Linked DNA regions of Homo sapiens: all the other regions are linked to region 1. Evidence: promoter capture Hi-C in human tissues and cell types (Jung and others, 2019). All regions are on one chromosome and are shown on one strand. Each heading gives the region's core, a stretch centred on a gene start or on the middle of the fragment in contact. The rest is flanking DNA. Distances are from core to core; before and after follow the strand shown. Region 1 holds the start of MSI1 (musashi RNA binding protein 1). Region 2 overlaps PXN (paxillin). Region 3 overlaps GCN1 (GCN1 activator of EIF2AK4). Region 4 overlaps DYNLL1 (dynein light chain LC8-type 1). Region 5 overlaps RNF10 (ring finger protein 10).

Region 1 (4,920 bases), core at 1,513-4,012:
ACAAAGTGGACTGAAGCTGCTGCAGCTGAGATACACCTGCACTGAAAGAGGATTTGTCTAAGTCTAACCCATGTTACTGTGATACAAACAAGCTACTGACCAAAAGAGGTAGACGCTTCCTCCTCAGATTCTGAATGAATATGCTAATACATGGATCCTATCTCAAGCTACTTCTTACACAGCATTGGCTGACTCTGAACAGATGCCTTTACCCATTTCCTTTTTTTTTTTTAATCCAAAATGTGTTTATTGAGATGGTTTCCCACTCATCTTGATTCAGAGTGCTTTGGGTGCTGCTTCCTCCTGAAGGAACATCCTTCTGTAGCCTTCCTTTTCCTCCTGTAGGCTGGCAGAGAACAGTGGAGCAGGCAACACACAAAACTACCGTTTGTGCATGGCTACAGACCATGGTGATTTTATAGCATCCTGGGCATGTCATATCCATGAAGTAGGAATCGGGACTCTGCACCAGGCGTTTCTTCTTCTGTTTCCTCTTCTCTTCTGGAGAAGGATGAAGGAGATCCCTGTCGAGAGGCATGTTCTCGTGGGTAGGTCGCCACTGCCGGAAAGGACCCATTTCCTATCCTTCAAGCTCATCTGCCCAGCAGCACCAGCACACAAACCAAAGTCCAGGAACACTGGAAGATCCCTACTCCCCGCACCTCTCCAATGACCCTTTTTAAGTTCAGACCTAAGAAGAGTCACCTCCCTAATACCGCAGAGGCTACCTGCTCACCCTCATCTGTGTCTCTGCTACAACACAAACTGGAATGCTTTTGTGTCGGAATGGTAAGAAATGCCTTGTGTGGGTGGCCCTCCAGTCCCCAGTCCAGGGGATGCTGAGAAACTGTGGGGCAGAGTAGGGGACACAAACAGGAAAAAGCAAGTTTGTTTCTAGTGTTATGCTCACAGGGTGGCAGGATATACCTGCTGAGCATTCCCAGAAGGTCCCCAAGGAAACCATTACTGTAAGTCTCTCACTTTCTTCTCTGCCTGATGGTTGGGGTGGGGAGAGGGAAGGAGGGCTATCAAGAGGGGGATGGGCACCCTTCCAGAGGTCAGAGTTATGATGCCCAGGAATAAAAGGTGTTGAATTCAGGATGGAATGTGAAGGTGAACAGCAAAGGGCTTGTCAACATGGGTTGTCACTGGATTACACCGGATGGATTAAGGTAGGGATGGGGGAAGGAGTAGAAGGTGAGTTGGGAGGGAGGGGCTTGTGTGGCACTGAGACCCCCAGCAGGGATGGGGAGAAGGGGTGTTGGCCACCTAAGCTTCCTGGTTTGATCCTTTTTTGGCTGGTTTCAGCTGGGGAAGTGAAGGGTCCTAAGGCTTGGATATGGAGAGGTGGGAATATGGAGAGGTGGGGATATGGAGAGGCGGGGATAAGGAGAGGTGGGGATAAGGAGAGTGGCCCCGCAGCTCCCCTGGTGAACCAGAATACTTTCTCAGGGTTGTTCCCAGGCTGGAGGGAGGGAATTTTAGGGGTACGTAAGGTGACTCCAAGGAGCCTTGGGTGCAAGTACTGGGGGATCCCAGAGACCCAGAAGATGGGGGTAGAAAGGAAGGTGTTTGCCTTCACGGGGAGTAGCCTCAAAATAAGAGGGACTGAGGGAAGTCATTCCAAATGCAGTGGGTAGGTAGTTTAGGCTCTTCCAATGGGATGGGGTGGAGCTTAGACCTCTGCAAAAGAAGGGGGTCATTCGGAGGGGACGGTGCACAGCTGAGGCGTTGGGCTCCTAAACTGGAAACAGGAGGCTCTAAGAGGCACTGCCTTTTCCTCCAGCCTCGGTGTGGTGGGGGTGGTGAGTGTCTGGAACCGGGTTTCCCGAATCAGGACAGGAGTCTGAATGGATCTCACAAAAACCGGCCAGGGAGGGAGAGAACCAGGGGAGACTCCTCACACCGGGAGGTGGGGGTGGCGGCAAACTGAGAACCCGGGCTTGGGGCGCGGGATTTTCTCAACAGACCATAGGGTCCACTAATGTGGACGGCAGGGATTTGGGGAAACTAAGGGGGACTCTCACTTTGGACACCAAGGGCTGAGGACGGATTGGGGAAGAGGATACGGTTTCTACTGGGGTGCTGATGGAGGTTCCCCACTCGGGACGCGAGGCACTGAGTGGGTCCCCCAAACTGGATATGGGATCCTGGGAACGGAGCGAGGGCTCTAAATTAGAGCCCTGGGGTGGGGGTGGGGGGCTGTAAATTAGGTTGGGAGGAAACTGGGGGCTCTGAGGGCGGCTTCTCGCTCCGACTGGGGAAATGGAGCATGTGGGGACTGGGGAGCACTAGGGCTATCTCCCGCCCGACCCGAGGAGATTGGGGTTCTCTTCAATTCTGGACAGCAGGGACCTGAGAGGGAAGACCGGGGGGGTTCCCGATCCGGAACCGAGCTACCTTGAAGGCACCGGGAAGCGCTTCATTCCGGGAGGGCGTTCCCGCGGCCGGGCCCCCGCGCCGGGGTGGGTGGGGGGTGCGGCCGCGCCCTGGTCCCGGCCCGCACCGGGATTCGGGGGTCTCGCTCGGCCCCGGAGACCCAGGAGCCCCGCGGGAAGGGGGTCCCGGCGCCGCCGCCTCCGCGGGCGCCCGGGCTCGCGGGCGAGCGCGGGGCTTTATGCGCGCAGGGCGGCGGGGGGAGGAGCCGGCAGGTCGGCCCCCGGCGGGCCCTCCCCTCGGCCGTCCCCGCCCGCCCGCCCGAGCGGGGTCGGGGGAGGGGGCAGCATGGCCTGTCCGTCCGGCCCCCTTCGCCGCGCTCCTCATCTGCCCCGCGCCGAGCGCCGCCGCCGCCGCCGCCGCCGCCGCTCCGCTGCCCGCGCCGCCCGCGGCTCCCGATGGAGACTGACGCGCCCCAGCCCGGCCTCGCCTCCCCGGACTCGCCGCACGACCCCTGGTACGGCCCGGCCCGGCCTGCTTGGCCCGCGCCCGCCCCGGCCCCGCCAACATGGCCGATCCGGGTCCGGCCGGGCCTCCCCGGAGCCCGGGCCCGCGCCCCCTGCGCCCTGGCGCCCGGCGCTCACGCGGGCCCTTTGTGTCTCTCCTCCTCCCGCAGCAAGATGTTCATCGGGGGACTCAGTTGGCAGACTACGCAGGGTGAGCGAGCCCGGGAGCGCCCGCCGGTCCGGCAGGGCACCCCGGACCCCCCGGCGCCCCGGACCCGGACACCCCAGCCCGGCCCTGCGCCCTGCTGACCCCGGGCGCCCTCGCGCCCTCTTTCGCGCCCCGCCCGGAGACCCCGAGAGCGCAGGGCGATCCGCGAGCGCACCCGGCCCAGCGGGTGGAGGGGAGCAGATGAGGGGTTCAGGGGGTATCGGGGGGTGGGCTGGGCCCCCGGGACCCGCCGGCGGCAGCGCCAACTCCGCTCGCACCTGCGGCTCAAACTTTTGTGAGGCTGCTCCCGGAGCGGCGGGAACCCGGCCGGAGCCGTCCCCCTTCCAGCCCAGCTCGGCCCTCGGCTTCCCGGGGCCCCGGTGGGCGCCAGGAGGCTCAGCGGGAACGGGGCGAGGGCGGTGGGGGGCGGCGGCAGTGGAGAACGCGCGGGCAGCTTGGCGCGGGGGCGGCCGGGCCGCTCCGGGGTCACCGGGGGCAAAGGACGGGGGGGGGGGAAGGGCGCGGGGCCCGGGCTGGTCCGAAGGCGGGTGTGTGGTTACAGAAGGGCTGCGCGAATACTTCGGCCAGTTCGGGGAGGTGAAGGAGTGTCTGGTGATGCGGGACCCCCTGACCAAGAGATCCAGGTGAGCCCCTCACCCCCTCCTCCTGCTCCCGGCTCGCCCCCCTCCACCCGCCACTCACTGCCTTGTAACCATCTGCCTCTCCCTCACTACGGCGCGCAGGGGTTTCGGCTTCGTCACTTTCATGGACCAGGCGGGGGTGGATAAAGTGCTGGCGCAATCGCGGCACGAGCTCGACTCCAAAACAGTGAGTGGCCCTCGGGGCTTCGGGGGTCCTTTGGGAGAGGGAGGCTGCCGGAGGAGAGGGTCAGGACTCTCCCCAGGGGACAGCTGGACGGGGTCCATGAGGAAGGAGGGAGTTTTTCTGAGTAAGAGGGCTGCCATGCTCTGAAACTTTGTCACTAGAGTTGGGGGGGAGAGGGAGGAGAAAAATCCCTGGCCTGCCATGAGATGCTACATCCCCCCTCCCCTAGTCCTGGTGAGGGGAGAGGCAGCCGCCACCCTCTCCCTAGAAGTACTAATCATGATGCCTCAGAGCAGAGCTTGGGGTGGGGCTAGGTCCCTCCCCCAGCCCAAATTGGGTGAGTCAGGGTAGCACTGACCCACCCGGTGGCTTCTGTGAACTCTAACTAGTATTTGGCTCTGCGACACCCCCTCTTCATCCAGACCAATGGCAAAGCATCCCTTGAAGCCCCCTCCCTCTCTCCTTCCCTCCTCCCCCGACTTTTGGTCAATGAGCTCCTTGCTTTGTGTGGAAGACAGGGACCTGCTTTGCCCACGGAGGGGATTTATGAGAAAGGCTCTAGCTTGCCTGGAAACGACCCTTCGGAAGACTAGATCTTAGGAGAAGCTGCTTGGTTGGCATTCAAACTCATGGAACATTTTGCTGTTGTCCCACAGCTCCTTCGTGTCTTAGACCCTGCAGGGGGCGCTGGCTCCAGGGCAGATGGAAAAGTAGAAAAGTCAGAGGAGGGGGTTACTCCCATGTGATGGGGGTGTCTGTCTGCTGGGGGCAGGGATAGTGTGGATCTCTTCTCTCCATGCTTCCCTGCTGTCCCCCAGCCTTGGGCCTCTCTGCTTGGGTCAGTCCCTGGCTCCCGTTTACCTGCAACAATAGCTGCTTGTGCCCAAGAATTTGTCAAATTACCGCCTGTCCCCAGCTCCTGTTATCTCTGCCCAGTGGCTCCCGCTCCCGCTCGCAGTAATGAGCAAATGAGGCCAGGCCTCAACTTTGCCGGCTCTGAAAGGA
Region 2 (5,167 bases), core at 1,067-3,566, 160 kb after region 1:
GGCCCCCTCCTCCCTCCTGTAGCTCTCCCTAGGCTGCCCACTCTCCATCCTCCCCAGGGGTAGAGGCTGGGGGCTCCACCCCAGCCCATGTACGTCCCCACGAACTGGCCTGGCCAGCACCCCACACTGGAGCCATCTCTTCCTCATATTTCAGCAGTGCAGCCGGGGGGCAGGGAAGGGCAGGCAGGGTCTGTTGGGGTCTCTTTTTATCCTTATTCCTCCCCCGACCTAATTGTCTTTGTTCTGTGATTATTGGGGGACACCCGGCTCCCTCCAGACAATGCCAGCATAAATCCATCCATCCAAAGGCAGAGAACCAAAGGGGCCATGGAAGGTTCTCTGTGCTCCTCCTACCCTTCCAGTGCCCTAGGCCTGGCGACTGCCCCTGCCTTTTAGACCCGCCCTCCCCTTTTATACCTGCTCTTGTTCTACTGAGAAAAGCCTCTCCAGCAATAATGTTTTCTAGTCACTTCCTCCGTCTCCGGGACGGCGTGCCTGGACACTGTACCGACTTTGATAGATTTCTACACTGAGGTTTGAATTCATATCGCCTGAGTTGCTTTTACTTCTCTATACAAAATGATTTTGAAGAGATTTTAAAGACGTTCCCTTTTGTATTCTCTTCCTCATCCACCGCCACTGGGCCTGTCACTGATGGTGGCTCTGGTGTGAAGTTTGCTTTGTACTGAGGGTTGGGGTGGGGAAGCAATTTGTATTTTATTGTTTCTTAGCACAAGCAGGTGAACTGGGAGCAGCTCTGTGACTCCCCCTCTTTCACTTCATAGCTCACCAGGACTGTTTTATAAACTGCTGTATTTGGAAACCCCTTCTTTACTTCCCAGGCCAGCAAGCTCTTCACTGAAACTGGTTGAAGGGTGTTGCACCCTTTTGGGCCTAGAATTCTGAACTTTATCTGTTCTGTTTCTGTGGGAGGAGAAGGGGAAGTATGTTTTGGGGGGCTGCTTCCTGTCTGAGTAAGCCCTCAGGAGCCTCTGCTCCCCTGTGAACCCACTGAACCTTCTGAGCCCCCACTGCTTCTATGGGGCTCTCTCTTCTGCCTTCTCAGGAAAGCTGGTGTCTGATTTTGGCCATCAGGACTCTGACGTCTCTTTGGTCTTGTTGATTTCCTCTGGGCATATCCCTTCCCCAGATCTGCTCCTCCCCTTTCACAGGTGGGATCGGCACTCAGGGGGTCTGGAAAGAAGGTCATAAGGGAGCATGATAGGATTTGGGGCAGAGGGACAGGCTCCTCTGGGGAAACCCCCCAGAGCTCTTTACCAAGGATGAAAGAGGAGCCAGGCCTTGGGCTCCTGATGAGGAGAAAGGGGCCCCACCGGGGTCTAATGGTGACAGTCCAAACCACTCCACTGGCCTCCTGGCAGAAGCCGAGTGTGCTGGGGTCTCCGAAGAGGGTCCCTCCTTTTTGGGGGAAGGTCAGCCCAGCCCCTCCAAAGGTCTGATGTCTCCACTTTCACCCGCAGGCCTTACCGCTCTGTTTATAGTGACCCACCCTAGATCTTCCCCAAGAGGGACTGGGGTTTCTGGGGTCCATTCTCTGAGTCAGTGGTTATTTGAAAATTTGATTTTGATTTTATTTTTTCTCTGTAAACTTCCAAGCTGGCTTTTCCCATTTCAATTCCTGTGATTTATGCCAATAAAGTTTGCCCATGATTTTCACCTGTGCTAGTGCTATTTCTTGGTGGTCTGAACCTCATGGTCCCAGCAGAGACCAAACCCACCCCAGATGCAGCTGGATCACCAGATGGAGGGTAAATTGTGGATGTTTCCTTTCTTGAGGTCAAAATCCCTGGGGCTGGGGTCCGTGGTCCTTGCCTGTGGTCACAGGTCCTCCCCGTGGGCTTTGCTCCTGCCTGGGCAGTTGGTGAGGACAGGCTGGGGAGCAGCGGGATGGGGCCCTGTGGGGCAGGGCCTGCCCAGGGTGTGATCACCTGGGTTTACCAAGGGCATCCTCACTCACGGGCTTGTGGGTGGCTTTCCACTCATTTAGAAGTAGGGAAAGAGGCTCTAGGACAAGAACCTACATGTACAAGGCAATCTGAGTGAGGGCAGAGCCATGATGCGGACCCAGGGCTTGCCTCTGCCTGTGTTCCTGCACAGAACCAGACGCGGCCGTGCCTGAGCCCACACAACGTGGGTTAGCCCCTTCCCTGCCGAAGGCAGTTACTTACAGTTGAGGATGGGTCTCTACTGCCTCCTCGTCGTCATGTCCGGATTTGCGTGCTTCCTCTTTGCTCCGGTCAGATCCAGAGCTCCAGTCCTAGGCCCTAGAGCAGGGATGTCCAATTTTTTTTTTTTTTTTGAGATAGAGTCTCACTCTGCCCAGGCTGGAGTACAGTGGCATGATCTCGGTTCACTGCAACCTCCACCTCCCAGGTTCAAGGGATCCTCCTGCCTCAGCCTCCTGAGTAGCTAGGATTACAGGCAGCTGCCACCACACCCGGCTAATTTTTGTATTTTTAGTAGAGCCAGGGTTTCACCATGTTGGCCAGGCTGGTCTCAAACTCCTGATCTCAAGTGATCTGCCTTGGCTCCCAAAGTGCTGGAATTACAGGCGTAAGCCACCACTCCTGGCTTTTTTTTTTTTTTTTGAGATGGAGTCTCACTCTGTCATCCAAGCCAGAGTGTAGTGGCACGATCTCGGTTCACTGCAGCCTCTACCTCCTGGGTTCAAGCAATTATCATGCCTCAGCCTCCCAAGTAGCTGGGATTACAGGTGCCCACCACCACACCCGGGTAATTTTTGTATTTTTAGTAGAGCCAGGGTTTTACCATGTTGGCCAGGCTGGTCTCAAACTGCTGATCCCAAGTGATCTGCCTGCCTCGACCTCCCAAAGTGCTGGGATTACAGGCATGGGCCACTGCGCCCAGCTGGGTGTCCAATCTTTTGGCTTCCTTGGGGCCATGTTGGAAAAAGAAGAATTGCCTTGGGCCACACATAAAATACACTAATGATAGCTGATGAACTAGAAAAAAAATAATAAAATCACAAATCTCATAATGTTTTAAGAAAGTTTACAAATTTGCCCTGTAATTCCAGCACTTTGGGAGGCCGAGACGGGCAGATCATGAGGTCAGGAGATCGAGACCATCCTGGCTAACACGGTGAAACCCCGTTTCTACTAAAAATACAAAAAATTAGCCAGGCATGGTGGCGGGCGCCTGTAATCCCAGCTACTCGGGAGGCTGAGGCAGGAGGATGGCATGAACCCGGGAGGTGGAGCTTGTAGTGAGCCAAGATCACGCCACTGCACTCCAGCCTGGGCGAGAGAGCGAGACTCCGTCTCAAAAAAAAAAAAAAAAAAAAAAAGAAAGTTTACAAATTTGCATTAGGCCAAATTCAAAACTATCCTGGGCCGCATGTGGCCCACAGGCCATGGATTGGACAAGCTTGTCCTAGAGCTTCCTGGGCAGTTTTGTTTAACCTTGAGCTGTGTCTTCACAGCTTCCCTGTTGTTTGGAACGGTTCTCCAAAAGCAGCATGTTGAATTCTAGTTTAAACTCTTCCCATGCTATAGTGAGCTCAGAAGTGAAAATTACCTTCAACGCTCACCCAAAGAGAATGATGGGGCCAGGCTCTGTGGCTCATGCCTGTAATCCTAGCATTTTGGGAGGCCAAGGTGGGAGGATCATTTGAGCCCAGGAGTTCAAGAGAATAACTTGGTTTATTCTTCCAGCCCATGTTGGATTTATTTTATTTCTAGAAATGGGTATGGTATATTTCCTTTTTTTTCTTTTTTTTTTTTTTTTTTGAGATGGCATCTCACTCTGTCACCCAGGTTGGAGTGCAGTGGCGCGATCATGGCTCACTGCAACCTCTGCCCCCCAGGTTCAAGCGATTCTCCTGCCTCAGCCTCCTGAGTAGCTGGGATTACAGGCACCCGCCACCACGCCAGGCTAATTTTTATACTTTTAGTAGAGACGGGGTTTCTCCATGTTGGCCAGGCTGGTCTCGAACTCCTGATCTCAAATGATCCACCCTCCTCGACCTCCCAAAGTGCTGGGATTACAGGCGTGAGCCACCATGCCCGGCCAGGTATGGTATATTTCACTGTAATGTGCTTTTCGCTTTGCTTTGTGGATATTTTCCCATGTCAATAAATATAGATCTGTACCATTTTCTAATGGCTTCATGGTATTCCGTTATATTGATGTACTACAATTAGAGATGATATTTATATCATCAGAGCCAGGAGGTCCTTGGAAATGTACCTTGTGCATATGTATATACTTGGAAAAGTGCGTTCAGAGGGAGGCTGACTCAGGGTTTGGAATGGACTGTATAGCACAGTGAGGCCCAGGGGCTTTGAACTTCCTCCTAGATTTCAGTTCTGAAGCCTTCACTTACTGGCTGAGAGACTTGGGCAAATTATTTAACCTTCCTGTGAGTATTCTCATCGATAAAATGGGAGTACTGACAGTACTGTATCTCCTCAGAGGATTGTTGCAAAGATTAGCTTCAGTAATGTGCACAGAGTACTTAGGACAATACGAAGTGTGCAGTAATACATTGCCATTAAAAAGAGATCTCGGGTGTCCGCGGGTTGCCGAATGGAGCTGAGCATCTTGATGGAACCAGGGATCTCAGGGTGAAGACTGAAGCCCTAGGCTATGGCGGAAGTTGGGTGCCTGAAGTACAAGTGGAAATATGCCAACTGAACATTGGACCACCACAGCCTGCCCCCTGGCTCAGCGCCCAGTGCCAACAGAACACCTTTCAGGATCCACAGCAAGGCAGACAACGGAATCCACACAGGCTTCCATTCTCAAAAGGCCATCAAAACATAACTGCCGGCCGGCCACGGTGGCTCATGCCTGTAACCCCAGAACTTTGGGAGGCCGAGGCCGACAGATCACTTGAGCTCAGGAGTCCAAGACTAGCCTGGCGAACATGGTGAAACCCTGTCTCTACTAAAAATACAAAAAGTTAGCTGGGTGTGGTGGTGGGTGCCGGTAATCCCAGCTACTCTGGAGGCTGAGGCAGAAGAATTGCTTGAACCCAGGAGGCGGAGGTTGCAGTGAACTGAGATTGCACCATTGCACTCCAGCCTGGGCGACAGAGCGAGGCTCCATCTCAAAAAAAATAAAATAAAATAAAATAAAAATTAACTGCTGACGAGACAATTTATATTTCCTTCCCCTCACTACA
Region 3 (5,209 bases), core at 1,093-3,592, 200 kb after region 1:
AGAAAAGAAATGTCTTTGAGTAGTGGAGACATGAGTGCCTTTTAAATGTTTTTCTTTATATTTTTTCTGTTTCTCAAGTTTTTTGTAGGAACATTCTTTTTTGAGTCAGAAAGCAAAAGGCTAGTAAAAGTTGCTTTAAACCCAGCTTCACAACACAAAGGCTACTTCTGGAATCAGAAACCGTATCGTGGCATCACACACGTGACTGCATTGTTCACTCTCTTGGGAAATGTGGCATATGTGAATGTGAATCTTTGCTGTCTCTCTTCTCAGGCTCGGAAGGAAAACTAACTGTTGTAGCCCAGAAGATGAGCGTCCTCTCAGGTATAGGATTTCTTTTTTTTTTTTTTTTTTTTTTTGAGAGAAAGTCTTGCTGTGTCATCTAGGATAGAGTGCAGTGGTGCCATCTCAGCTCACTGCAACCTCTGCCTCCCAGGTTCAAGCGATCCTCATGCCTCAGCCTCCTTAGTAGCTGGGATTACTGGTGCACACCACCACGCCTGCTAATTTTTTTGTATTTTTAGTAGAGATGGGGTTTCACCATATTGGCCAGGCTGGTCTTGAACTCCTGGCGTCAAGTGATCTGCCCGCCTCAGCCTCCCAAAGTGCTGGGATTACAGGCAGGTACAGGATTTCTCTGCCAGGAGTAGAGCTGTGATCTGGTAGTAGATAAGCTTTTTTTTTTTTTTTTTTTTTGAGATGGAGTCTCACTCTGTCGCCAGGCCGGAGCGCAGTGGCACAATCTTGGCTCACTGCAACCTCTGCCTCCCGGGTTCAAGCAATCCTCCTGCCTCAGCCTCTTGAGTAGCTGGGACTACAGGCACACACCACCACATCCAGCTAATTTTTTTGTATTTTTAGTAGAGACAGGGTTTCACCACGTTGGCCAGGATGGTCTCGATCTTGACCTCATGATGCACCTGCCTCAGCCTCCCAAAGTGCTGGGATTACAGGCGTGAGCCACTGCGCCTGGCCTAGTAGTAGATAAGCTTTAACATAATTCTTAGGTAAGGCGAAGCCTTCTTTGCATCTTGACTCCTGTGACGATCTTGGGTCCAGCCTGCCTCCCAGGACCCTGCTGCTTGCCTGCTTGACAAGAGGGACTTGTTCAGGTCTAGCAGGAGGCTTGGCTTCTATAGAAGGCAGGAGGTGTAGAGGGGGCATTGAAGGAAGATCAATAATGGCCAAAGGAGAGGTATGCCTGCTGGAGACACAGAAGAGGTCTGTGACCCAGAGTGCGGAGGTGGCAGCAGTGGGAAGACTTGCCTCTGTGGTTCTGTGCTGATAAGAGACTGAACAGGGAATCTGCCTTTTAGGGATTGGGAGCGTCAGTCATCACGTGGTGTCTGGACCTTCCAGTCAGGTCCTGAATGGGATCGTGGCTGAGCTGTTCATCCCGTTCCTTCAGCAGGAAGGTAATTCTGTGCAACATGGTGAGCATGCGTTCTGTACTCATCCTTGACCGTGGTTTTTCACAGTTGGAGCTTTCCTTCCATAAACCTCTCCTAAAGACACACCTCCCTCAGAGCAAGGCTCGTAGCTGTCTGAAATATCACTGCTTCCTCCCGCTTGTACTCTGGCTTGTTTTTTGCACTGCTTGCAATGATTTGACATGGTTATAAGACATTGGACTGACTGGACTTCTGCTTTTTGCCCTAGTTCATGAAGGGACCTTGGTACACGCTGTCTCAGTCCTGGCTCTCTGGTGTAACCGATTCACTATGGAAGTGCCCAAGAAGCTCACTGAATGGTTCAAAAAAGCTTTCAGCCTTAAAACCTCCACATCTGCGGTGAGGCATGCCTACCTGCAGTGCATGTTGGCCTCTTACCGGGGTAAGACAACTCCCAGGGCTAGTGTCCAGGTCTCCTTGCAGAGGTTACTGAGTCTTTAGGGTATTGTTAGTGTTCCCGCTTTCCCTGTTAGTTCAGCTTATTTTGCACTGTTTAATTCTTCCTGAAATAAATGAGAGCATTGGGCTTAGCCCAAAATCCGAATTCAGTCTTCACAACAAATTCTGGCTTCTCCCCCTTGTCAGACTTTCAAAGTACAAAGCTTTATTCAGAGAGGACCAGAACCAGAACTTGTCACTATAGTATCTGAAATCATGGAGAAATGACTCAGATAAGACTGGTTTAAGGGCTGGGTGCGGTGGCTCACACCTGTAATCCCAGCACTTTGGAAGGCCGAGGCGGGCAGATCACCTGAGGGCAGGAGTTCAAGACCAACATGGCGAAACCCTGTCTCTACTAAAAATACAAAAATTAGCTGGGCATGGTGGCGGGCACCTGTAATCTCAGCTACGTGGGAGGCTGAGGCAGGGAGAATTGAACCCGGTAGATGGAGGTTGCAGTGAGCCGAGATTGCGCCATTGTACTCCAGCCTGGGCAACAGAGCAAGACTCTGTCTTGGAAAAAAAAAAAAAAAAAAGACTGGTTTAAAAAATCCAACTTCGTGTAAACTTTACTCTGGACTTATTAAAAATGACCACCGCCCTTCCTTCAGTGTTGAGGAACCTACTGTCATTTGGGCAAGCAGAGCTGGGGGAAACTTTCAAATCTGTATAGGAGCTTGGTCTCCAAGCTATAAACCTCTATTACTGATTTCCATCTCAGAGATATGCTTGTATTTCTTTTTAAAAAGATTTAAACTTATGAACTGTATTTAAAGAAGCATCTAGGAGAGGCTGGGCACAGTGGCTCACGCCTACCAGCACTTTGGGAGGCCGAGGCGGTTGGATCACCTGAGGTCAGGAGTTCGTGACCAGCCTGGCCAACATGGTGTAACCTTGTCTCTACACAAATACAAAAATTAGCCAGGCATGATGACAGGTGCTTGTAATCCCAGCTACTCGGGAGGCTGAGGCAGGAGAATCGCTTGAGCCCAGGAGGCAGAGGTTGCAGTGAGCCGAGATCAAGCCATTGCACTCCTGCCTGGGTGACAGAGTGATACTCTGTCTCAAAAAAGAAAAAGAAACATCTAGGAGATTCCAGGGCCTCCTCTTGGGAGGGGACCCCCTTCTGTGTGAAATGTCTTGTCTGATGAACTTTGTACTCACATATTTCTTTTAATGATAAGGGAAGAAGAATCTGACCATAAGAGATTTTTGCACTGATTTGAAAGCAATATATCTTTTTCTGAAATATGTCTCCCAGCTCAGAATCATAGATCATCTTTGTGCAGTGGTTTGTGAGGTTTATTCAAACCACAGGTAGTGCTGATTGAAGTCATAGATTTTCCATGGGTAGAAATGTACGCTCAATACATTTTCAGCTGCCTTAGGGATATAGTGAACTCACATCCATGACTTAAAAACAGTCTATGAGGCAGGCGAGCTGGCTCACGCCTGTAATCCCAACACTTTGGGAGGCTGAGGTGGGAGGATTGCTTGAGCCCAGGAGTTTGAGACCAGCCTGGGCAACAAAGTGAGACCCCCATCTCTACAAAAAAATTAAAAAAATAGCTGGGCATGGTGGTACATGCCTGTGGTCCCAGCTACACAGGTGGCTGAGGCAGCGGGATTGCTTGAGCCCAGGAGTTCAAGATCAGGCAGGGAAACATAGCAAGACTCTGTCTCTACCAAAAATTATATAAAAAGTCTATGTACTATATATATCAGTTTGCATTATTGCTGCATTGAATGACCATCAGTTGTAGGTGGGACTTTGAATTGTAGATGGCAAAAACTTGGTTTTACCTAGTCTCTTCAGCTTGAGCTAGTTCTGCTCGTTGCATTTATTTTTAATTTATTTTTTAAAAAAGGAATGCAGAGTGCCAGAACTCAATGCTCATTGCTTTTAAAATAAACATAATATAAAATAAACCTTTTAAAAACAAAACGAAAATAAACCTCTGTAATAAAGATTTCTTGGATTCAAGTATAAAACATTATCTGGGAAACTGCTTTCATTGTGAAATGTTCTGATGTACCCATTTAGTAGCTATGGAAACATGGAACAACAAACCAAGGTGTTGGGGTAGGGGGGAAGAAAACATGTGCTTGAGCTATAGTTTTTTTTTTGAGATGGAGTTTCTCTCTGTCACCCAGGCTGTAGTGTAGTGGTGCGATCTCAGCTCACTGAAACCTCCGCCTCCTGGGTTTAAGCGATTCTCCAACCTCAGCCTCCTGAGTAGCTGGGATTACAGATGCCCACCACCATGCCTGGCTAATTTTTGTATTTTTTAATAGAGACAGGGTTTTGCCATGTTGGCCAGGCTGGTCTTGAACTCCTGACCTCGGGTGATCTGCTCGCCTCAGCCTCCCAGAGTGTTGGGATTATAGGCATGAGCCACCGTGCCCAGCCAAACTATAGTTTTAACTGGTTTCTCTTTTTTTTTTTTTTTTTGGAGATGGGGTCTCGTTCTGTCACCCAGGCTGGAGTGCAATGGCACAATCTCGGCTCACTGCAACCTCCGCCTCCTGGGTTCAAGCGATTCTCCTGCTGCAGCCTCCTGAGTAGCTGGGATTACAGGCGTGCACCACCCCACCCGGCTAAGACAGGGTTTCACCATATTGGTCAGGCTGGTCTGGAATTCCTGACCTCATGATCCCCCCCGCCTCAGCCTGCCAAAGTGCTGGGATTACAGGCATGAGCCACTGTGCTTGGCTTCCTTTTTTTTTTAAAAGAGTTTAGTTCAGAGGTCAGCAGATTTGGACCCAAATTTAGAATTTGGGTCCGAAGGTCATCTGTATGGGGGAAGAGTACCAGATGGGAATTGACAGGATTGAGGGTGGCTCTGACTTGCCTCAACTAGCCGTGTGACCTTGAGCAACACACCTAATGTCTCTGCTTATCCATCAATTGAATAACTGGACCACGCCCAGCTAATTTTGTATTTTTAATAGAGACGGGGTTTCTCCATGTTGGTCAGGCTGATCTCGAACTCCCAGCCTCAGGTGATCCACCCGCCTCGGCCTCCCAAAGTGCTGGGATTACAGACGTGAGCTACCGCACCTGGCCATAAGGATTATCTTTCTCCCTCTAATTTTGTGGCTGTAGAGTTTGATTTAAGTTTTGATTTCACTTCACTTCTTTTTGAGATATTTGAAAAATTAACTGAAGGGTTTTAGTCGTCTGGTTCACAGCTGGTTAGATAAATCCTTTCTCAGTCCTGTCATTTCCAAGGATCAGGATGTCCTTTAAGGTGCTTGTCCTCTCTCCACAGGTGACACGCTGTTGCAGGCCCTGGACTTACTGCCCTTGCTCATCC
Region 4 (4,806 bases), core at 1,717-4,216, 130 kb before region 1:
ACGGGGTTTCACCATGGTCTCGATCTCCTGACCTCGTGATCCGCCCGCCTCGGCCTCCCAAAGTGCTGGGATTACAGGCGTGAGCCACCGCGCCTGGCCTTGTCATTTTCTAAACTTCTCCCTGAATACAGTCCACTGTTTGATGTTAAAATGAGGCCATAAATTTTTTTAAGAGACAGGGTCTCGCTCTGTCACTCAAGCTGGAGTGCAGTGACCTGATCATAGCCCACTACAGCCTAAACTCCTGGGCTCAAGCAGCCCTCCCACCTCAGCCTCTTAAATAGCTGGGTCTACAGGCATACGCCATAGTGCCTGGTTAATTTTTTAATTTGTAATTTTTTTTTTTTTTGGAGACCGAGTCTCCCTCTGTCACCTAGGCTGGAGTGCAGTGGTGTGGTCTTGGCTCACTGCAACCTCCGCCTCCCAGGTTCAAGCAATTCTCCTGCCTCAGCCTTCCAAGTAGCTGGGATTACAGGTACCTACCACCATGCCCAGCTAATTTTTGTATTTGTAGTAGAAACAAGGTTTCACCATGTTGGCCAGGCTGGTCTCGATATCCTGACATCAGGTGATCTGCCCACCTCAAGCCTCCCAATGTGTTGGGATTACAGGTGTGAGCCACCATACCTGGCTGCCATAATTTTTTTTTTCTTACTAGAGACAGGGTCTCCCTGTGTTGCCCAGGCTGCTCTCGTACTCGTGGGCTCCCACCTTGGCCTCCCAAAGTGCTGGGACATGAGGCACTGCACCCAGCCATAAATATTTTGAGTGTGGATGAATCATAAGGTTTTAAAGAGGCCTTGCTAAGAAACTGCAGAAATTGGTCCGGCACAGTGGCCTATGCCTGTAATCCGAGCACTTTGGGAGGCCAAAGAGGGCAGATTGCTTGAATCCAGGAGTTCGAGACCAGCCTGGGCAACATGGCAAAATCCCATCTCTACAAAAAATAAAAAATTAGCCAGATGTGGTGGTACACACCTGTGGTCCCAGATATTTGGAAGGCTGAGGTGGGAGGATCATCTGAGCCCGGGAGGCGGAGGTTGCAGTGAGTCGAGATCACACCACTGCACTCTAGCTTTGGTGACAGAGTGAGACCCTGTCTCAAAAATGAATTGCAGAAATCAGTCTGTGACTTGGCTAACAGTTTGTGGATAACATAGTTCAAAGGTATGTGAAAGGGCTTCAGATACGCTGCTTCCTGACCCAGCACAGTAAGGATCATTTACGTGCCTTCACTTACAAGATCTTGCCCTGTCACTAAAAAGCTTCTAGATAGAGCTAGCTATATACAACTCTCTCAAAGAACAGCAGCTAAGAGCATTTGATAAATGCTTAGAAAAACTTAGCTTACATTTTCTTTTCAGCCAGCTGGAGCCTATTGGCTTTTGAAATTAACAGGAAGGAACAGGCACTGGAAGGAGCTTCATAAACCATCAACCCAGTCTTATCTCCATAGCAACATGGTTTTCTCACATCTGAATAAAAAAACAAAAAAGCTGCCAACTTGACAGTAAATATGGGACAGATCATATTCAACTAAAACTCCCAGTGTCTAGCTATCAGTCTTGAATCAGCTTTTGGGTCTGTAGCTAGAGACAGATCATCCGTTCTGAGTAGGGCTTAACTGGACAAACTAAAGCTTTGGAGGCCAAATTCCCTGTGGGCTTCAAATAGAAATATAGCCAGGTCACTAAAGAGGGAAAAGGGATAGAAAAAATATGAGTTAGGCCAGGTTCGGTGGCTCACACCTGTAATCCCAGCACTTTGGGAGGCCGAGGTGGGCAGATCACGAGGTCAGGAGATCGAGACCATCCTGGCTAACATGGTGAAACCGTCTCTACTAAAAGTACAAAAAAAATTAGCCTTGCGTGGTGGTGGGTGCCTGTAGTCCCAGCTACTCGGGAGGCTGAGGAAGGAGAATGGTGTGAACCTGGGAGGCGGAGCTTTCAGTGAGCCGAGATCGCGCCACTGTACTCCAGCCTGGGCGACAGTGAGACTCCGTCTCAAAAAAAAAAAAAAAAGAAAAAATATGAATTAAACCGGGTGTGGTGGCTCGTACCTGTAATCCCAACACCTTGGGAGGATTGCTTGAGCCCAGGAATTCAAGACCAGCCTGGGCAACACAGGGAGACTCCAGCTCTACAAAAAATTCAAAAGTTAGCTAGGCATGGTGGCATGTACTTATGGTCCCAGTTACTTTGGAGGCTGAGGTGGCAGGATCACTTGGGCCCAGGAGGTTGAAGTTGCAGTGGGCTATGATCACACCACTGCACTCCAGCCTGGGCAATAGGAGTCTCAAAAAAAATGAAAGTTAGAAAAAAGGAACATTTTCGGTCTGTTTATATAAATACAAACATAAAATTACCCCAGTTGCAGTCTCCTGTTTATTCCACAGTACCTCATCCTTTTTTGCAGACAGCAGGGAAAAAACTGGCACAATAGTCAAAATTGCCAGGTTTGGTGGCTCACGCCTGTAATCCCAGCACTTTGGGAGGCAGAAGTGGGCAGATTACCTGAGGTCAGGAGTTCGAGACTAGCCTGACCAATATGGTGAAACCCCATCTCTACTAAGAATACAAAATTAGCCGGGCATGGTGGCACATGCCTGTAATCCCAGCTACTTGGGAAGCTGAGGCAGGAGACTTGCTTGAACCCAGGAGGCAGAGGTTGCAGTGAGCTGAGATCACGCCATTGCACTCCAGCTTGGGCAACAAGAGCGAAACTCTGTCTTAAAAAAGTCAAAATCTTGCACCTCTACCCTGAAACCCTTCCAATCCTAAAGTAGCACAACTTTGCTAGGATTCTTAAAACCACACATTCTGAAGAAAAATAAACTTCCAAATATGTTACTGACCTAATTCTACTCTTACAATGGGAGTTATCACCCATCAATTCCAATCTATCGCCCTCTTCTGTGTAGCAGTCACCTAGCTGCTTAGAAATCCCAATGGCATCTTAGAGATCCATGGGAAAACATAGGCTAACTACAAGTCAGGACCCTTCTTGCAGTTTCCCAAGATGGGTGTGGGTTGTTCCAGCCTGTCTTATTTCCTTTCCACCTACAAGTCTGCCATATTTGCTTTTCTACGACTGCAGTCCTCTTAAAATTGATAGCAGGAAACCTCTGATAGCTACTTGTCCCCAGCTTTAATTGGGTCTTTTCAGGAAAAGGTATCAATTCACACTTGTTCCTGACCACAGCAAAGCACAGCACAGCAGGCTGATAAAGTCTTTGCAGGAATTTACATTATTAGAAGAGCATGAAAACTGCTGCTCAGAAACATTTACTTTCCCCTAAGGCCACCTTCTTTCTAGGCAGGGGAGGGGGCTAGACAAGGGTCCTGGAATCCATTTCATTATCCCAACTTTGTTTTGAGCTTATTTCCATTTTATAGCCATAGAAAGCTTCAAGTACTACTACATACACATCCATCACCACAACCTGAGGCCAAAGGCCCAGAACATTCTATAGCAATGTCTTAACAAATATCCTTAAACATTGATTTTTTTCAGATTAGGACTAAAGATTTAATTTAAATGTTTCTTTATCATGCACTGCATTTCTCAACATGCACAACAGTTGCAGGATGGGTGAGAGAATGTGACTAAAGAGTACTGAAATACCCCACAGAAACTTAACTTCTGTAAGGATGGACTCATCCCCACCAACCTGGGCATCTGATCAAGTGACCGTCTTCAACGCTGTTATTTGAACAAATTGTAATTCACACACATACACATCTGCATCAGATTTATTTTTTAAAGGAATGGATTTTGAGAGAAAACAACGTGGGCAGAAGTATGGAATAGAAAATAAATACAAATGTAGGCTATTCTGCTAATTGTTTTATAACCACGACAAACTAGTACAGAGAATGCCCTGTACAAAACACAACAAAGGTTCAAACATCGAGATGTTCCCTTAGCAAGGCTGAAAATTTCAGTCTCTGGTATTTGGAATTTAGGCTGCAGTCCTTGTTTTTGGATGGATCACTGGGTGTGTGGCACAGTCCATGCTTTTAACCAGATTTGAACAGAAGAATGGCCACTTGGCCCAGGTAGAAGTAGATGAAGTGTTTGGTTTCATGTGTCACATAACTACCGAAGTTCCTCCCCACGATGCAATGCCAGGTGGGATTGTACTTCTTGTCAAATTCCTGGAAAAGACAAAAGAAAAGAACTAGGATTTTAATTACCAGAGGTCAGTGTTTGCCTCTTGGATAAGCCAGAGCCTGTAGGGGCAGAAAGGAGGAACGTCAGCATCTGCAAATTCTTAGAATGAAAGAATGTTCCCCAGCTCCAAGCCGCCTACATAGTACATTAATACAAACATACTTGCAGTCTGAGCGAAGATGGGAATGGAGGCTGAGGAGGTCAAAGGACGAAAGGTCAGCCCTAAAGACAGGGTGTTTTGTTATTATGGTAATTACACCTTCATACCTTCTATAATATTCATTGACAGACGGTGACATCAACAGGTGTAGTTTATCATGTTCTGTGTAGAGAACTAAACTACCCTACTGTATTTGCCATGCCCCCAATTCCAAGAAAACGGCAAAAAATTAGCCCATCCCATTCCTCATCACAAAGATCTTAACTGCACCCCTGCAACACAAGACTTTTCCAATAGGACAAAACTTCAAACAGCATTGTATACCAAATGATTGCGGATCAAAATTAAATTTACAGGAACACAATACTGAAGCACTCCACTGTTGCTGTAAAAACTGCTGGAAACAGAATCTGTCAACTGGCCAAATTTTATCCTTAATTATTATCCAAACAGCCGTCCTCTTCACATCTATC
Region 5 (5,434 bases), core at 2,283-4,782, 170 kb before region 1:
AGTACTGGGATTACAGGCATGAGCCACCATGCCCAGCATGTTTTATTCCCCCAGGGTGGAAAGCAGTGGTGCCATCATAGCACACTGCAGCCTCAACCTCAGCTTAGCATCTTTCCAACTCAGCCTCCCAGCTAGGACTGCAGGTGTGCACCACCACACCCAGCTAATTTTTAAATTTATTTTGAGACAGGATCTTACTTTTGTCACCCAGGCTGGAGTGCAGTGGCATGATCTCGGCTTACTGCAGCCTCCAACTCCTGGGTTCAAGCAATCCTCCTGCCTCAGCCCCCCAAGTAGCTGGGACTCCAGGCATATACACCATTCTTGGCTTAATTTATATTTTTGATATAGACGGGGTTTTGCCATGTTGCCCAGATGGGTCTCAAACTCCTGAGCTCAAGCGATCCACCAGCCTCAGCCTCCCAAAGTGCTGGGATTACAGGCGTGAGCCATCAGGCCCGACCTAATTTTTAAATTTTTTTGTGCAGACGGGGGTCTCACTATGTTGCCCAGGCTGGTCTCAAACTCCTGGGCTCAGGCGATCCTCCAGGCTCAGGTGATCTTCCCACCTCAGCCTCCCAAAGTGCTGGGATTATAAGCATGAGCCATGGGGTCTGGCCCCACTTTTATCTTATTACAATGATTCTCAATCTTGCCAGTTCATAGGAATCACACAGATGAGCTTTTACGGAATTCCTATGCTCAGGCCTCACCCTCTAAGATTCTGATATAACTATACTAAAGTACCTGTCTGCAGACCTGTAATATTATCTGAGTAATTTTTTTTAAACTTAGAAAAAATTATTTCTTGGTAAGTACAATCACCAGCTTTTTATAGCAGGCTAAATAAATTCAAGGTTAAACAATGCCTCAGAAAGAAGAAAATGTAAGTTAATAAATCAGAGACCAAATTTTGAAAGCAACCACTTCACGCCCATAGTCTGTCAACCTCACTGTATAAATGAGATGTCATTCTCTCCAAACCTGACCACCTAAAACCTGGGAGTCAATCTAAACCATGTGAAATGGCAGCAATGTAAACAGAACAGTCACAGAAACAGGCTAGGTTCACTCCTACCAGTTACCCTTAAATCCTGCTTACGGACAGTGACCCTTACCTTAGTTACAATTTAAGGCCAGGCATGGTGGCTCCCTGTAATCCCAGCACTTTGGGAGGCCAAGGCAGGCAGATCACATGAGGCCAGAAGTTCGAGACCAGCCTGGCCAACATGGTGAAGCCCCATCTTTACTAGAAATACAAACATTAGCCAGGTGTGGTGCCACACGCCTGTAATCCCAGCTACTTGGGAGGCTAAGGCATGAGAATCATTTGAACCCGGGAGGCAGAGGTTGCAGTGAGCTGAAATCACGCCACTGCACTCCAGCCTGGGCAGCAGAGTGAGACTCTGTCTCAAAAAACAAATAAATAAAGTTAGAACTTAAAAACTAAACTTTTACCTATTACTTCAGTTAGCAACAGTTAGTGTCAAACATGGCACTAGTAGTAACAATTAGAAAGCAAAGTTTCAGCGCTGGACTTGGTGGCTCATGCCGGTTGTCTCAACACTTTGGGAAGCCAAAGCAAGAGGATCACTTGAGTCCACGAGTTTGCGACCAGCCTGGGCAACATAGCAAGACCCCATCTCTACAAAAAATTTAAAAATTAGCCCAATGTGGTGGCACACACCTGCAGTCCTAGCTGAGAGGCTGAGTTGGAAGGATTGCTTAAGCCAAGGTTGAGGCTGCGGTGTGCTATGATGGCACCACTGCTCTCCACCCTGGGCTACAGAGTGAGCCTCTGTCTCAAAAAAAGAAAAAGGCCAGGCACGGTGGCTCACGCCTGTAATCCCAGCACTTTGGGATGCTGAGGCGGGTGGATCACGAGGTCAGGAGATCAAGACCATCCTGGCTAACATGGTGAAACCCTGTCTCTACTAAAAATACAAAAAATTAACCAGGCGTGGTGGCGGGAGCCTGTAGTCCCAGCTACTCAGGAGGCTGAGGCAGGAGAACGGTGTGAACCTGGGAGGCGGGGCTTGCAGTGAGCCAAGATTGCACCACTGCACTCCAGCCTGGGAGACACAGTGAGACTCCATCTCAAAAAAAAAAAGAAAAAGATAAACCAGGCACAGTGGTTCAAGAGTTCAAGGATCTCTTAAGCCAAGGAGTTCAAGGTTTCAGTCAGTTATGTTTGCACCACTGCATGCCAGCCTAAGTGACAGAGCGAGAGCTTGTCTCTAAAAAAAAAAAAGCCAGGCACGATGGCTCATGCTTGTAATCCCAGCACTTTGGGAGGCCAAGGCAGGTGGATCACGAAGTCAGGAGATAGAGACCATCCTGGCTAACATGGTGAAACCCCATCTCTACTAAAAATACAAAAAATTAGCCAGGCTTGGTGGCGGGCGCCTGTAGTCCCAGCTGCTCGGGAGGCTGAGGCAGGAGAATGGCGTGAACCCGGGAGGCGGGGCTAGCAGTGAGCGGAGATCGTGCCACTGCATTCCAGTCTGGGCGACAGAGTGAGACTCCGTCTCAAAAAAAAAAAAAAAGGAAAACTCAGGGGATGCAGAACCCCAGCTAACTCAGCCACATTCTCTTGCTTTGCTTTCCTTAACTCCATTTCACATCACCTCAAGCAAAGGAGATTCTACGAGGATAGGTATATAAAGAAAACACATATCCTCCAACCTCATTATCCAAGACTGTTTCAGATGATCCTGGACCCTACCTGTTTGACCCTAACTGCTGCTTTCAAGATGCACCTCACGGTTTGCATAGATTTAGGTAAAGCCAGATTCTACATGGCAAGGGCTTATTAAGAAAGTAAAATGGCCAGACACGGTGGCTCATGCCTATAATCCCAATGCTTTGGGAGGCCGAGGCGGGCGGATCACCTGAGGTCGGGAGTTCGAGACCAGCCTGACCAACATGGAGAAACCCCGTCTCTACTAAAAATACAAAAAATTAGCTGGGCATGGTGGCGCATGCCTGTAATCCCAGCTACTCCGGGGGCTGAGGCAGGAGAATAGCTTGAACCCGGGAGGTGGAGGTTGCGGCAAGGCCGAGACTGCACCACTACACTCCAGCCTGGGCAACAAGAGCAAAACTCTGTCTCAAAAAAAAAAAAAAAAAGAAAGTAAACTGGCACTCAGCAAGAAGGCTGTCTTCATTTCTTCACTTATTACCACACTGGCAAGGAAACAGTTTCATAATGCTTACAGAAATGCTCACTGATAAGACAGTAAACTGCTCATTTCCAAAACACATAACAACTGACCACATCATGATTAGTGATTTTAGTTGCCAAAATCAACTCGTTTCTCGTCTTCCAGTTACCTAAGGGTATGAAGACAGATATGTCAAGTGAGAGACTGGCTCTTATCTCTAGACCCAGGCAAAAGGCAGCTAAAGGTTGAAGGTACCATCAGGCCTGGGACCCAGAGATAAAATTCAGAGTATTATTTTTGAAATGTTTTGTGGACAACTTGCCAGGATATACATGGGAAAAACTCGAGGGTAGAACAGGAGTGATAAGATGATCCACTTTAGATTTTGGAAAACAAAAAATATCAAGTTCCTGGGAGAAGGAACTATGGGTGAAGTTTTAAATCTCAGAGTGGTGGTTCTCAATCCTGGCTGCACACCAGAATCACTTGCACAGACTTTTTAAATTATGAATGCCCAGGACCCACGGGTTCAATCTAGGCTTAAAGAATCAGAAAAAGGCCAGGCACAGTGGCTTATGCCTGTAACCCCAGCACTTTGGGAGGCTAAGGTGGGAGGATCATTTGAAGCCAGGAATTTGAGACCAGCCTGGGCAACATGGTGAGACCCCCATCTCTACAAAAAAAAAAAAGATAATAAATTCCTAGGAAGGGGCCCCACACACCCCTATTTTTTTTTTTTTTAAGTTCCTCATGAGGTCAGGAGTTTGAGACCAGCCTGGCCAACATGGCGAAACCCATCTCTACTAAAAATACAAAAATTAGGCCGGTGTGGTGGTGGACACCTGCAATCCAGCTACTCAGGAGGCTGAGGCAGAAGAATTGCTTAAACCGGGAAGGCAGAGGTTAAAGTGAGCTGAGATCGCGCCACTGAACTCCAGCCTGGGTGACAGAGCAAGACTGTCTTGAGGGAAAAAAAAAAGTTCCTGAGGAGATTCTGATGCACAGCCACCACTGAGAACAACTGCCAAGAACTACTGTCAAGACACATTCCAAAATGGACAAGACCACTAAACTCAGGCTCCAGAGTCGACAAATAAATGACTTAAAAACTTAACCCAGCTTCTCAGTTGTTCCACATTTCCCTAATGGAAAGGTCTCCACCAAGTAGCAGTAGGTATATCTCAGCCTCCCCCCATTACCAAATTAAGGGCCACAAGTTTTTCACAGTTAAATTACTTGGCATCTTCATTTCTAGCTCTAGTTCTAACAGGTGGCTCGGCCTAGAGGTCAGAATACCAGTCAGCAAGTTTCTGCTGCTGATTCATGCTGTAATCACAAGCAAGTTGCTTACCCATCATCCAGAGTAGTTGACAAGCACCTCCAGAGGGGCAACATATGGCCTTACTACAGAATCAACTGACAACAAATTGAATCCAGCTGAAATTAGTAATTCTGAATGAAAGGAAGAGAGAGGTGGTATCAGGAATGATGCACATGCCAGTAAGTTATCTGCTTGCTAAGTGTGATTATACAAAGCTTATTGAAAAATACCGCCTAGGACTTCATAAAAATTTACTTGGACAAATCACTCTTAACACTGCTAAGCCTCTATTTTCTTTTCTGTGAAACAGGACTAATATTCTACCATACTTCCTCATAGAATCATGAGGATTAAGAAAGAAAACTTCTGTAAAATGCCTACCATAGTGGCTGACACACAGTTTTACTATGATTTGAAAGCCTATCATTAATAAATCCAAAGCGTTCCTGTCAAGAGCACCCACTAGACTTCCAATGAAGCCATATAAACCAAGGAATCCAGCCAACGGGCCCTGAAATTCTTTTAATTTCTCTAAGTGGTTTTACTGAAGGCTTCAAATCACCTCAATTTTCAAAGCCATTAAAATCTCCAGGTCCATTTACAGCTCAGAGGCATTCTTCAAGGCAGATTACCACTAGTAACCTGGTTTCTGGTACCAGAATAACAGGAAGAATGCCAGGGCAGTGCTTCATACCACCAACCTCAAAATAACTGCCTCATAATACCTGACCTTCCCTTAACCTCCCTGGCAGTTCTATCGGCCCAGGGGGATGGGACAAGAGCCTGGTTCCTGGCCAGAGTCCACTGCCTGCCCATAAACGGCCTACCTTCTCTCTTGCCTCTCTTTCTTTGCTCCCTCTAAATGACTTTCCCCACTTTCTAACCCACCTTCTCTCCTCTGAGCTATATTCACAGGATATTTACTGCTGCATGTTCTCAGAAATACCTA

The links. Contacts are between HindIII fragments. The study calls those that stand out against the background at their distance.
Region 2: a contact is called between a fragment that was not itself captured here and the fragment with the promoter of MSI1 in region 1, in 1 of the 25 tissues and cell types used here (bladder).
Region 3: a fragment that was not itself captured here is called in contact with the fragment with the promoter of MSI1 in region 1 in 1 of the 25 tissues and cell types used here (spleen).
Region 4: a contact is called between a fragment that was not itself captured here and the fragment with the promoter of MSI1 in region 1, in 5 of the 25 tissues and cell types used here (dorsolateral prefrontal cortex, lymphoblastoid cells, mesenchymal stem cells and 2 more).
Region 5: a fragment that was not itself captured here is called in contact with the fragment with the promoter of MSI1 in region 1 in 6 of the 25 tissues and cell types used here (bladder, dorsolateral prefrontal cortex, lymphoblastoid cells and 3 more).

Annotation. Positions count from the first base shown.
Region 1 is chr12:120,367,006-120,371,925 of GRCh38, reverse strand. MSI1 (musashi RNA binding protein 1) reads left to right here and starts at 2,762. Exons shown (of 15, transcript NM_002442.4): 1 at 2,762-2,893; 2 at 3,053-3,093; 3 at 3,653-3,734; 4 at 3,834-3,918. The coding sequence starts at 2,835. It also overlaps the pseudogene RPS27P25. The HindIII fragment of the contact is 19,353 bases long and covers 454-4,920 here.
Region 2 is chr12:120,206,957-120,212,123 of GRCh38, reverse strand. PXN (paxillin) reads left to right here. Exons shown (of 15, transcript NM_001385981.1): 15 at 1-1,677. It overlaps PXN-AS1 (PXN antisense RNA 1), which reads right to left. Exons shown (of 4, transcript NR_038924.1): 3 at 2,190-2,285. Among named protein-coding and RNA genes, the nearest start is that of PXN-AS1, 8.2 kb to the right of the region's middle. The HindIII fragment of the contact is 7,134 bases long and covers 1-5,167 here.
Region 3 is chr12:120,170,277-120,175,485 of GRCh38, reverse strand. It overlaps GCN1 (GCN1 activator of EIF2AK4), which reads left to right. Exons shown (of 58, transcript NM_006836.2): 12 at 274-324; 13 at 1,317-1,415; 14 at 1,660-1,833; 15 at 5,165-5,209. Among named protein-coding and RNA genes, the nearest start is that of MIR4498, 17 kb to the right of the region's middle. The HindIII fragment of the contact is 3,020 bases long and covers 833-3,852 here.
Region 4 is chr12:120,497,424-120,502,229 of GRCh38, reverse strand. DYNLL1 (dynein light chain LC8-type 1) reads right to left here. Exons shown (of 3, transcript NM_003746.3): 3 at 3,737-4,157. The coding sequence ends at 4,020. Among named protein-coding and RNA genes, the nearest start is that of DYNLL1, 3.7 kb to the right of the region's middle. The HindIII fragment of the contact is 3,028 bases long and covers 1,453-4,480 here.
Region 5 is chr12:120,538,550-120,543,983 of GRCh38, reverse strand. The region is part of intron 1 of RNF10 (ring finger protein 10); the gene reads right to left. Among named protein-coding and RNA genes, the nearest start is that of RNF10, 6.9 kb to the right of the region's middle. The HindIII fragment of the contact is 6,302 bases long and covers 382-5,434 here.